2 separate regions of the Homo sapiens genome follow, and region 2 is linked to region 1. Evidence: promoter capture Hi-C in 16 types of primary human blood cells and fetal thymus (Javierre and others, 2016). All regions are on one chromosome and are shown on one strand. Each heading gives the region's core, a stretch centred on a gene start or on the middle of the fragment in contact. The rest is flanking DNA. Distances are from core to core; before and after follow the strand shown.

Region 1 (4,787 bases), core at 1,707-4,206:
TGCAGTAGTACAGGCAAAAGAATAAAGTAATTGGAGTGGGATGTGCAGTAGTAGATAGAAGGAAAAGTGGATGGATTTGAGATGTGTTTCAGAGGTGGAAGCAACAGCCCATATGAAGGGATTGAATGTAAGATGAAGAGTGTCAGGTTTTTGGTTTGATAAACTGAATTGATGACAGTGTAATTTATCAAGGTGGAGAAGAACTGATAGAGGATATGTTGCAGGAGGTAGGGGAGGCTTGGAAATCAAATGTTCTGTTCAGGTCAAGTTTAAATTTGGGAGGTATTGAGCCATTAAAAAGGTAGATATATGAGTTTACAGCCTATAGGAGAGGTGAGGACAAGGGACGTAACATTTACATATAAAGTAAATAAACACATATCCATGTAATCTCAGTAATAATATATTAGGAAGAGTAGCCATATATTTGTATTTGTCCATTTATTCATTAATCAATTCATGAATCCACATACTTATTCCACAAATATTCATTGTATACTTACCATCTTATCAGGCTCTCCTGCAATAGTCAAGCCAGTGGCCTATAAAGAAAAGAGTGTGCAATCAGAAAAGGGGGATTGTAGGAAGAAAATGTTAGACTTTCTTTTTATATTTATTTTAATCTAAAAACGCAAAATTAAATCTTACTTATATTGAATATATAAACACCAGCATCTCACTACTCCTGAGTGAGAAGTGTGAGTTCTGCAATGTAGAGAATTCAGAGATTCCTTCATTTTCTTTTAGTATGTTGTCACTTATTCCAGTTTATGTGGGCTGGGTTAAGTAGATTTATCAATTACATTCTTATTTCATTATATCAACCTTTACTAAAATGAAAGTGACTAAAAAGGATTTCTGGAAAGACAACATGAGTTTGAAATAATATTGCAAGCATAAGCAAAAAAGATGACAGAGATGACATTTTTACTTCTAGGGTGAGCACTACAGCACTGGCCAGCACTACAGAAGACACCTTACTAAGTCATGGGATGACATTTTGAAAATAAAAGTTTGGAAATATTTCCATCATGTGATTTTGATGCAAAAATGATATATGTGAGCCACCCAAGTCTGGGACTATGGTGAAGCAAATGGTTTTCAAGGTGAAAACCGTTCACCTTGGGCACAAAATTTAAGGGGGGGGTGCCAAAAATTCAATAATCAAGACAACTAATCTTAATACAATATTTTAAAAAGTCAAAATTTATCTTAATCAATCCATGATAATCAAAATATCAAAACCTTAAAGACAAGATCTATAACTCCCAAAACTCATACATGAATACTTAAAACTTGAAGATAGAAATTTTCAACTTCTTAAAAATCTTCTAAGCAATTTATTCCAAAGAGCTTTGAACCCATTTGTAAAAATATAAAAATGCAACATCTTCTGGTTGACATCAGGAAAGATGGAACACTACTAGCTGAATTTCAATAAAAACCTTTGCATGGTTGTTGGATGGAATGGATAAAAATGAAACTTTTTTCATATCAGTTTTTTTTTTTAAATCGTTCTAAACATGCATTAGGAAGAGTGGCCAAAGATGTACTTCCTCCTTTAGGATCTACATCTTTGTGAGTTACCTTTTTTTCAGCTTATGACAGCCATTAAAACCAAGTACAAAAATAACCTGACGTTCAATCAGATATTTTAATAACTATTTCACGAAGTATTAAAGATTTTTAAAACTAACGAAACCTAGTCAATCATATTGATTTCCTTAAATATTTTTAGTGAGAATAACAAAGATTTTTATACCATTAATATGGAAAATAACTAAGTTATTTTAAATGTTTATGTCATCTTTGTCTTAGCCTTTTTACATTTTACAAATGTTTTATAATTCTGCACACAGCAGGACACGTATAAAACTTATATAAGTATATGGATTTTTTTTTGGTAACGGGATTACAATAAAAAAAAGTTTGGAGAACACAAGTGCAGGCAGTTAATGCTGTGGGTGTTAGGAACATGACAAGATTATATTATCTCAGCATGCTGTAAGATCACTGTATCCATAAAAGTCTTCATGAAGGAGCCCCGCCGAGTCTCCATAATGGAAGCAGGATTTGGAGAAATGACTTCTGCAAACTTTGTTTAGTATAACACAAAGCACCATGCTTACTACTAGAGAAGATTAAAATTCTCTAAAAACCTTGTTAACGGAGATCACAGGTTGAAGCATACTGCAGCTCTACTCTTGGAAGGCTAGCTCAGTCTCAGACTTGGCCCTGATGGAGAAGGAAGTTCCCTGGAAGAGGGCAGGGGAGCGCCTCTCCAATGTAGTTGCGGGGGGCGGGCGGTGAGGACACCGCTTCATAAGGGAAGGGGTGGCTGCCTCCCCAAGCAGGGGGTGGCCCCTGAGGTCCCTCCAGCTGGGGGCCCTTGAGAGGGAGGGTGGGGAGAGGGGAAAAGAACGTCAGGAGAGTGAACGGGAGCAAATAAAACGCTGTCCATTCTGACTGGAAGGGCCAGAGCCGTGTCTAAGGGCGGGGGCCGGGAGGTGGCCCGCGGTGGTGTCTCTACCAGGACGAGGCCTGGGGTATCTGAAGAGGGGATGACGTCCAGGCGCTTTGCTAAAGGGAAGCCAGAAGGGTATGAGTTGCTAGGGTCAGAGATGGGGCTTTCGGCTCGAGTCTTTCCCTGCAGGGCAGAGAGTCCGAAGAGCCCGAGAAGGCAGGGAGGACAGTGGGCCTGGTCCTTCCCCGGCCGGCAGAGGGAGTCCCGAGATGGAACGTCCAGCTCTCCTCTAACGAAAAGCGTTTGCATGGCTGTCTCGCCAATTCTGTACCTCCCGGGGCTGAGGAAGAGCCGAGGTGACTAGAAGCTAGCGACAAGTGCCGGCCACCTCCGACGCCAGGCGCCGGGCTTGGAGCCCGACGGGCCGAATTCTCGCGAGAGCGGCCGCCGCCATTTTTCCATTGATTGCAGCGGGCTGGGGGAGGGGCCGACGACGAAGGCGGCTGTGGTAGCGGCGGCGGCGGCGGCGGAGCCCTGGGTCGGTGTCTGCGCGCTGGTGTCTGAGGCCCAGGCTGAGGCCTCCGCTATTGCTGGAGCGCAGGCGGCGGAGAGGATGACTGCCGCTGCCATTCTCTCTTGAGCTAGCGAGCCGCCGCCACCCTCCACCCTCCCCCGGCAGGGCGGAGAGGAGCGGCCGGAGTCAGCGATGGTGCCCGGCGAGGAGAACCAACTGGTCCCGAAAGAGGTGAGGGGCCCCAGAGGAGGTTAGGCCTTAGGCCTGCGGCCGCTCGAGGCAACACAGGCCCGGGCCGGGGTTCGGCTGCGGGCCCGGCCGGGGTGCAGGCTCGGCTGTGGGGGAATGAGGAGGCGTGAGGCAGTCGGGGGTGGACGGTGGGTGCGGCGAGCAGTTGGGAGACCCGCTGGCTCTAGGGGCCGGGGAGCGGACCTCCCGCCTCGGGTTTTATGGGGCTGGACGAATAAAGGAGCGGACGGGAAAGAATCAGGTTCTGCTCTAGGGGAGAAGGTGGCCTTTTAAGTTCTTGTTTAACGTGTGGAGCCGGGAGAGATCATTTCAAAGAAAACATTCTGGAACAGTTGCCTATGGGCACGGCAGGGTGACGGTGCTGCTTCTGGGTTTGACAGTGGCAGCGTATAGCTTTCAGCGCTTGTGAAATCTACACCCAAGTGAGATCTGTGGGAGGGCAGACTTAACTGTTACGACTTTTTTCAACTCCTGTTACTTGGTAGTACTATTGGCCTGCCTAAATGGGGCCTACCGAAGATCGTGGAAAAGTAGTACATGGGACATTAATGTAAAGGAAGGAGATAGGAGAACATTACCACATGGAGAGCTGAACTCTTTTTTTTTTTTTTTTTTTTTGAGGTTGGGTTGTGTATGCCAATTTGAGTGACTTCTTAAATTCTTAAAAGCAAGTGATACGAGAAGCCTTGACTACTTGGCTTCTCTTGAATAGTAGTAGAAGATTTAGGGTAGAATCCAGCACTGGCCAGCGAATTTCAACGTATTAATAGTATCTCTGTTGGCTTTATAAATATCTTCGGCGTATTCAAATGTGTATTTTTAACTGGCTGATCATCAGGCTAATGCTTTGGATTTTTATTTCTCATATACCTTAAATAGAGACAAGTGTTGGATTGAAATTAACTGTGTGCGATCTTGAAATTAATGAGTGATCATTACAGATTCTTAAATTTTTTTGTGCCTGTTTTACTTGTTTTGTAGCAATTCTTTGTTACTTAAGCAAGCTCTGACAGTATGCAAGGGTGATATTATTGGAGTTATGTACCTGTATGATACAAGTATTTTCCCAGCTTTGTCAGAAGGGCAGTGATAGTTGTTTTGCAAGGACGATTTTTGTAAAAGGCAGAGAGTTATGTGTCAGTATTTGTTCATCAAGCGTCACCAACTCTGTGCAAAGCAGATAAACAGATGAGTTAATCAGAATTCTTGCCTTGGGAACTTTCTGAGCTACTAAGAAAGGGAACACTAGTGTTTGTTGAACTCCAATTAGGGACTAGGTACTTTACCACGTAAGTAATTCTTATGCAAGGAAGGAAGTGATAGGTGCTGTAAGAAAGGTATAAATGTGTATTTCATTTTAGAGCTTCATATTGCTGGTTTTCATTTTTATAAAAAACAAAATTCTTTCTTAATTTTTTGACCATTAGAAAAATATCATATAGGTGGAACTCTGCTTTAAGAAAACCCAACATTAGATTTATTTCCCTAATAACTTGATTTATAGAAAACATGATATGATAATAGATACCGAGCTTTGCAGAAACATCTGTTGTGTAAAAA
Region 2 (4,591 bases), core at 1,243-3,742, 1.0 Mb before region 1:
TTTTCTTTACCCAGTCTGTCATTGATGGGCATTTAAGTTGATTCCATGTCTTTGCTATTGTGAACAGTGCTGCAATGAACATTTGTGTGTATGTGTCTTTTGTTTCCCAGCAGGGAAGGAATGCTTTGCAAAGTTAGGATGTCGCCCTATAGCAGAGATTAGCAAATTATAGTCTGAGGGCAAATATGCCCTAAATCCTATTTTTGGACAGATTTTAAGAATTTTTTTTTTACACTTTTTAAGGGTTGTAACAGTAACAACAAAAAAGAATACATGACAGATATCAATCATGTGTGGTCTTTAAAGCTTGGAATATTTATTATCTGGTCCTTTACAGAAAAAAGCATGCCAACTCCTGTGCTACAGCAATGTGCTGTGAACCAGCAACCAACATAAAGCGCGGTTTTTCCCTTATCTATATCTGCTGGGAAACCCAGGCTTGAGATAAACACTTCCCACTACGATACCCACTGATGCACTCAAAATGTTTTGCTTTCTATTTTCACAACTTTGAGCTTTGCCTATGTAGAACTCTTTATCTAAGGGAGACATGCTCTAACCCAGAAAATCCAAGAATGGTTCCTCTTAACTGGAAGTTTATTAACCAGCTGCAGATGCTGGCAGTATGAAGATGGAATAGATAATGAAGGAAGGATATTCTAGTTTACGAGACCAGTTGTAGAAATAAAGATGTAGTAGCTACCCATCTACTTTATTCTATTTTGTATGTATCTATATAGGTTAATCATTCCCATTGACTTGTTTTCTCTCCTCATTTATATAAGGTGTATTTGTAATTTAGCTAATGGTATTGTACTTATGTTTATTAATTTTGATAATTATGCTATAATTATATAATACGTTGATATTAGGGGAAGCTATGTGAAGGTATTGGTACTATTTTTGCAACTTTTCTGTAAGTGTAACTTTATTTATTTATTTTTGAGATGGAGTTTTGCTCTGTCTCCCAGGCTGGAGTGCAATGGTGTGATCTCGGCTCACTGCAACCTCTGCCTCCCGGGTTCAAGTGATTCTCCTGCCTCAGCCTCTTGAGTAGCCCGCCACCACACCTGGCTAATTTTTGTATTTTTAGTAGAGATGGGGTTTTGCCATGTTGGCCAGATTGGTCTCAAACTCCTGACCTCAGGTGATCTGCCCGCCTCAGCCTCCCAAAGTGCTAAGATTACAGGCATGAGTCACCACACCCAGCCAGTCTAACTTTATTTCAAAATAAAAAGTTTACGCTGGGCATGGTAGCTCACACCTATAATCCTGGCACTTTGGGAGGCCAAGGTGGGAGGGCTGCTTGAAGCCAGGAGTTCAAGACTGACCAGTCTTGAACACAGTGAGACCCCATCATAGTGAGACCCCATCTCTATTAAATATATATATATATATATATATATAAAGTTTAAAAATGAGCACAATTATGCAAACATAAATATATGATTTAGAAACACATGAAGTGATGAAATTTTTGATGCAATGTGGAATAAAAAATAAGATGCACTAAAATAATGTTTGCTCCTTTTTTAGATGCAAATGACATTAAATAAATCTTATAAATTACACTAAAGTAATGCCAGGAATTTTTCTTTATAACATTTTAAAAATACATATATATTTAAAAATAGAGACAGGGTCTCACTGTGTTGCCCAAGCTAGTCTTAAACTCCTGGGCTCAAGCGATCCTGCTGCCTCAGCTTCCCAAAGTGCTGGGATTACAGGTGTAAACCGCTGCACCCAGACATGGACTTTTCTTCTATCACTTCTTTAATATTTCCTCCGTAAAATTATTTCATGTGTCTCTCTTTGGAACTATGAGTTACTGGAATCCCTGCATTTATTTTACATGTCTCTGAAATCACCCTCCACCATTATCTTTGTTCTTTTGGAGTAACTCTTTAGCTTACTGTTCCAGTTTTGCTAGTTTGCTCTTCATTGAAGAAGTCCATTCACTGTTTAGTCCACCTTTTAATTTTTAAAAATTATATTGTATTTTATTTATTTATTTTTTGGAGACAAGGTCTGGGTCTATGCCCAGGCTGGAGTGCAGTGGCACCATCTCAGCTCACTGCAACATCTGCCTCCTGGGCTGAAGCCATCCTCCCACCTCAGCCTCCTGAGTAGCTGGGACTACAGGCATGCACCACTACCCCCAGCTAATTTTTGTATTTTTTGTAGAGACGAGGTTTCGTCATGTTTCCCAGGCTGGTCTCAAACTCATGAGCTCAAGCAATCCACCCACCTCAGCCTCCCAAATTGTTGGGATTACAGGTGTGAGCCACCACACCTCGCATAATTTTTTAAAATGGTAACAATCTATTTAACTGGTTCTTTTTCATCATTACAATATTCTCTCCTATTCCTCTGGGGATATTCTGTATACAAACTAAATTTAAAAAAAACATGTGAGGTGCTTAGAAGAATGCCTGACACCACACCAGGATGCACTAATTATTAATAATTATCATTTCACAGATCCTCTTCTGTTTACTCTGAAAACTACTTGCTTTTTGTTTGTTGACTGCTGTCATGCTTTCATGGTACTGGTCTTCCTCCGGCATTTGGTTGTTCCTAATTTTGTTCTCATCTTGTTATTTCCTGTTCTCTGTGTATGAGGCCATTTCTGTTTATCATAGTTTGCTCTAGTGATTGTGAGGGGATAAAATGTAATCCTGGACAGGGTATGCCAGTAGCTAACATTCTGAGTGTGAAATGAGGCTTCCTTTCCTGGACACAGTGTAGCCACTGGGGTACTGCCTGGCTTATTGGCCCCAAGTTTCCAAAGTCACTGTGCTAGCTAGGGGCAAATACCATTCTGAGGTACCCTTGGCTTTGAAGAATGAATGAGGGAAGGAGCCAACCCAACCAGAGGTTTCAAATTCCATTCCCCAAAAGTTATCCTTTATAGTTGCTCTAGGACGCTATGCCATCCCCACCCCTGCCTTCTACTCCCCTACTCCATCTATCTCTTTTCTTTAATCTATCACTTCTGAGCCTGAATTATTACACTGCCAATTTGATCCCATCTCCCTTCTTTCAGAGACTTCTCAAAATTCCAAGTCTGCTGGTAATTTGGACTCTGATAATCTTTAATAATCTTGAACAGACTGGGCGTGGTGGCTCAAGTCTATAATCCCAGCATTCTAGGAGGCCGAGGCAGAATTCCTTGAGGCCAGGAATTTGAGACTAGCCTGGGCAAAATAGCAAGACCCTATCTCTACAAAAAGTTGATAATTAGCTGAGCATCGTGATGCACACCTATAGTCCTAGTTACTCAGGGGGCTGAGGTGGGAGGATTACTTGAGGCCAAGAGTTTGAGGTGGCAGTGAGCTATGAAGGCATCACTGCACTCCAGCCTGGAGTGAGATCCTGTCTCTTAAAAAAAAGGGAGGGCTTTAAAAAAAAAAAAACACAGTGCCTTGGCCACCTGATAAATTCAGATTCATGGTTCAAGACTCAAATACAGCATTTATCTCTATGAATTTGTCTTTGACTCATACTTCATCATATTTTTCTCTGAACTTACATAGATCCTTGTATAAATCTTTATTGTTATTTATAAATGTCTGTCCCTGTACCCCATTAAACTGTGAATAAATTAACAAATGAAAAAAATGCTCTCCACAGGTCTATTAGTAATACTAGCATATCCACCAGATTATTTTCCTTAGATGGTCTTGCTGACAGGTAACTTCTACTTTGTGTGTTTTTAAAAATATGAACTAAAACTTGGAATTTATTATCACAGACCAAGAATGAAAAAGATTTAACTGTCCCTATCTATTAAGAAAATTGATTAGGATGAACAATCCTAAAAAACATTAGAATGAAGGTAACTTATTCTATGACACAAAACAAACTTTTTTTTGAGAGAGTCTTGCTCTGTTGCCCAGGCTGGAGTGCAGTGGTGTCATCTCTGCTCACTGCAACCTCTGCCTCCCGGGTTCAAGCAATTCTCCTGCCTCAGCCTCCTGAGTAGCTAGGATTACAGGTGCGCAGCACTGCACCTGGCTAATTTTTGTATTTTTAGTAGAGACAGAGTTTCACCATGGTGGTCAGGCTGGTCTTGAACTCCTGACCTCGTAATCTGCCTGTCTCGGCCTCCCAAAGTGCTGGGATTACAAGCATGTGCCACCGTGCCTGGCCAAACATTTTTAATGCTTTAGAAAAATTCATCTCTAGTCAAGTTTATGCTAACCATAAACATAATATAAAAATTACATACAATTCTATGTATTCACTGAGAGAAGAGCAACAAATGGAAATACTGTGTGCTTTGAAGTCAGACAGATGTAACCTGGAATCTCAGGTTTGTTACTCATTAGCTTTGTAAAACTGGATAAACAACTTGAGCACCCTGATCCTGAGGGAGACGCCTTCTAAAGTGGCTCACTGTGATTTCCGCCTCCTGGTATTCACACTCTTGCATAATACCTTCCCCTTGAATATGGGCTGGACCTAGTGACTTGCTTTTAATGAATAGAACATAACAAAAATGATGGGATGTCACCTCCAAAACTAGGTTACAAAAAATTATGATTTTGGTCTTACTGGTGCTTTCTCACTTGTTCACTTTGATGAAACC

The links. Contacts are between HindIII fragments. The CHiCAGO score rates a contact against its expected background, and 5 or more counts as called.
Region 2: a fragment that was not itself captured here is called in contact with the fragment with the promoter of USP47 in region 1 in 2 of 17 cell types (non-activated CD4 T cells and activated CD4 T cells); the score reaches 6.6 in non-activated CD4 T cells.

What each region holds. Positions count from the first base shown.
Region 1 is chr11:11,839,016-11,843,802 of GRCh38, forward strand. It overlaps USP47 (ubiquitin specific peptidase 47), which reads left to right and starts at 2,957. Exons shown (of 28, transcript NM_001282659.2): 1 at 2,957-3,209. The coding sequence starts at 3,171. LOC107984311 (a long non-coding RNA gene) reads right to left here and starts at 2,826. Exons shown (of 4, transcript XR_001748134.3): 1 at 2,160-2,826; 2 at 504-542. RefSeq lists enhancers at 2,033-2,898, 2,681-2,850, 2,899-3,762, 3,061-3,200. The HindIII fragment of the contact is 16,233 bases long and covers 1-4,787 here.
Region 2 is chr11:10,838,640-10,843,230 of GRCh38, forward strand. No RefSeq gene overlaps it. Among named protein-coding and RNA genes, the nearest start is that of ZBED5, 17 kb to the right of the region's middle. RefSeq lists a silencer at 363-657. The HindIII fragment of the contact is 4,377 bases long and covers 305-4,591 here.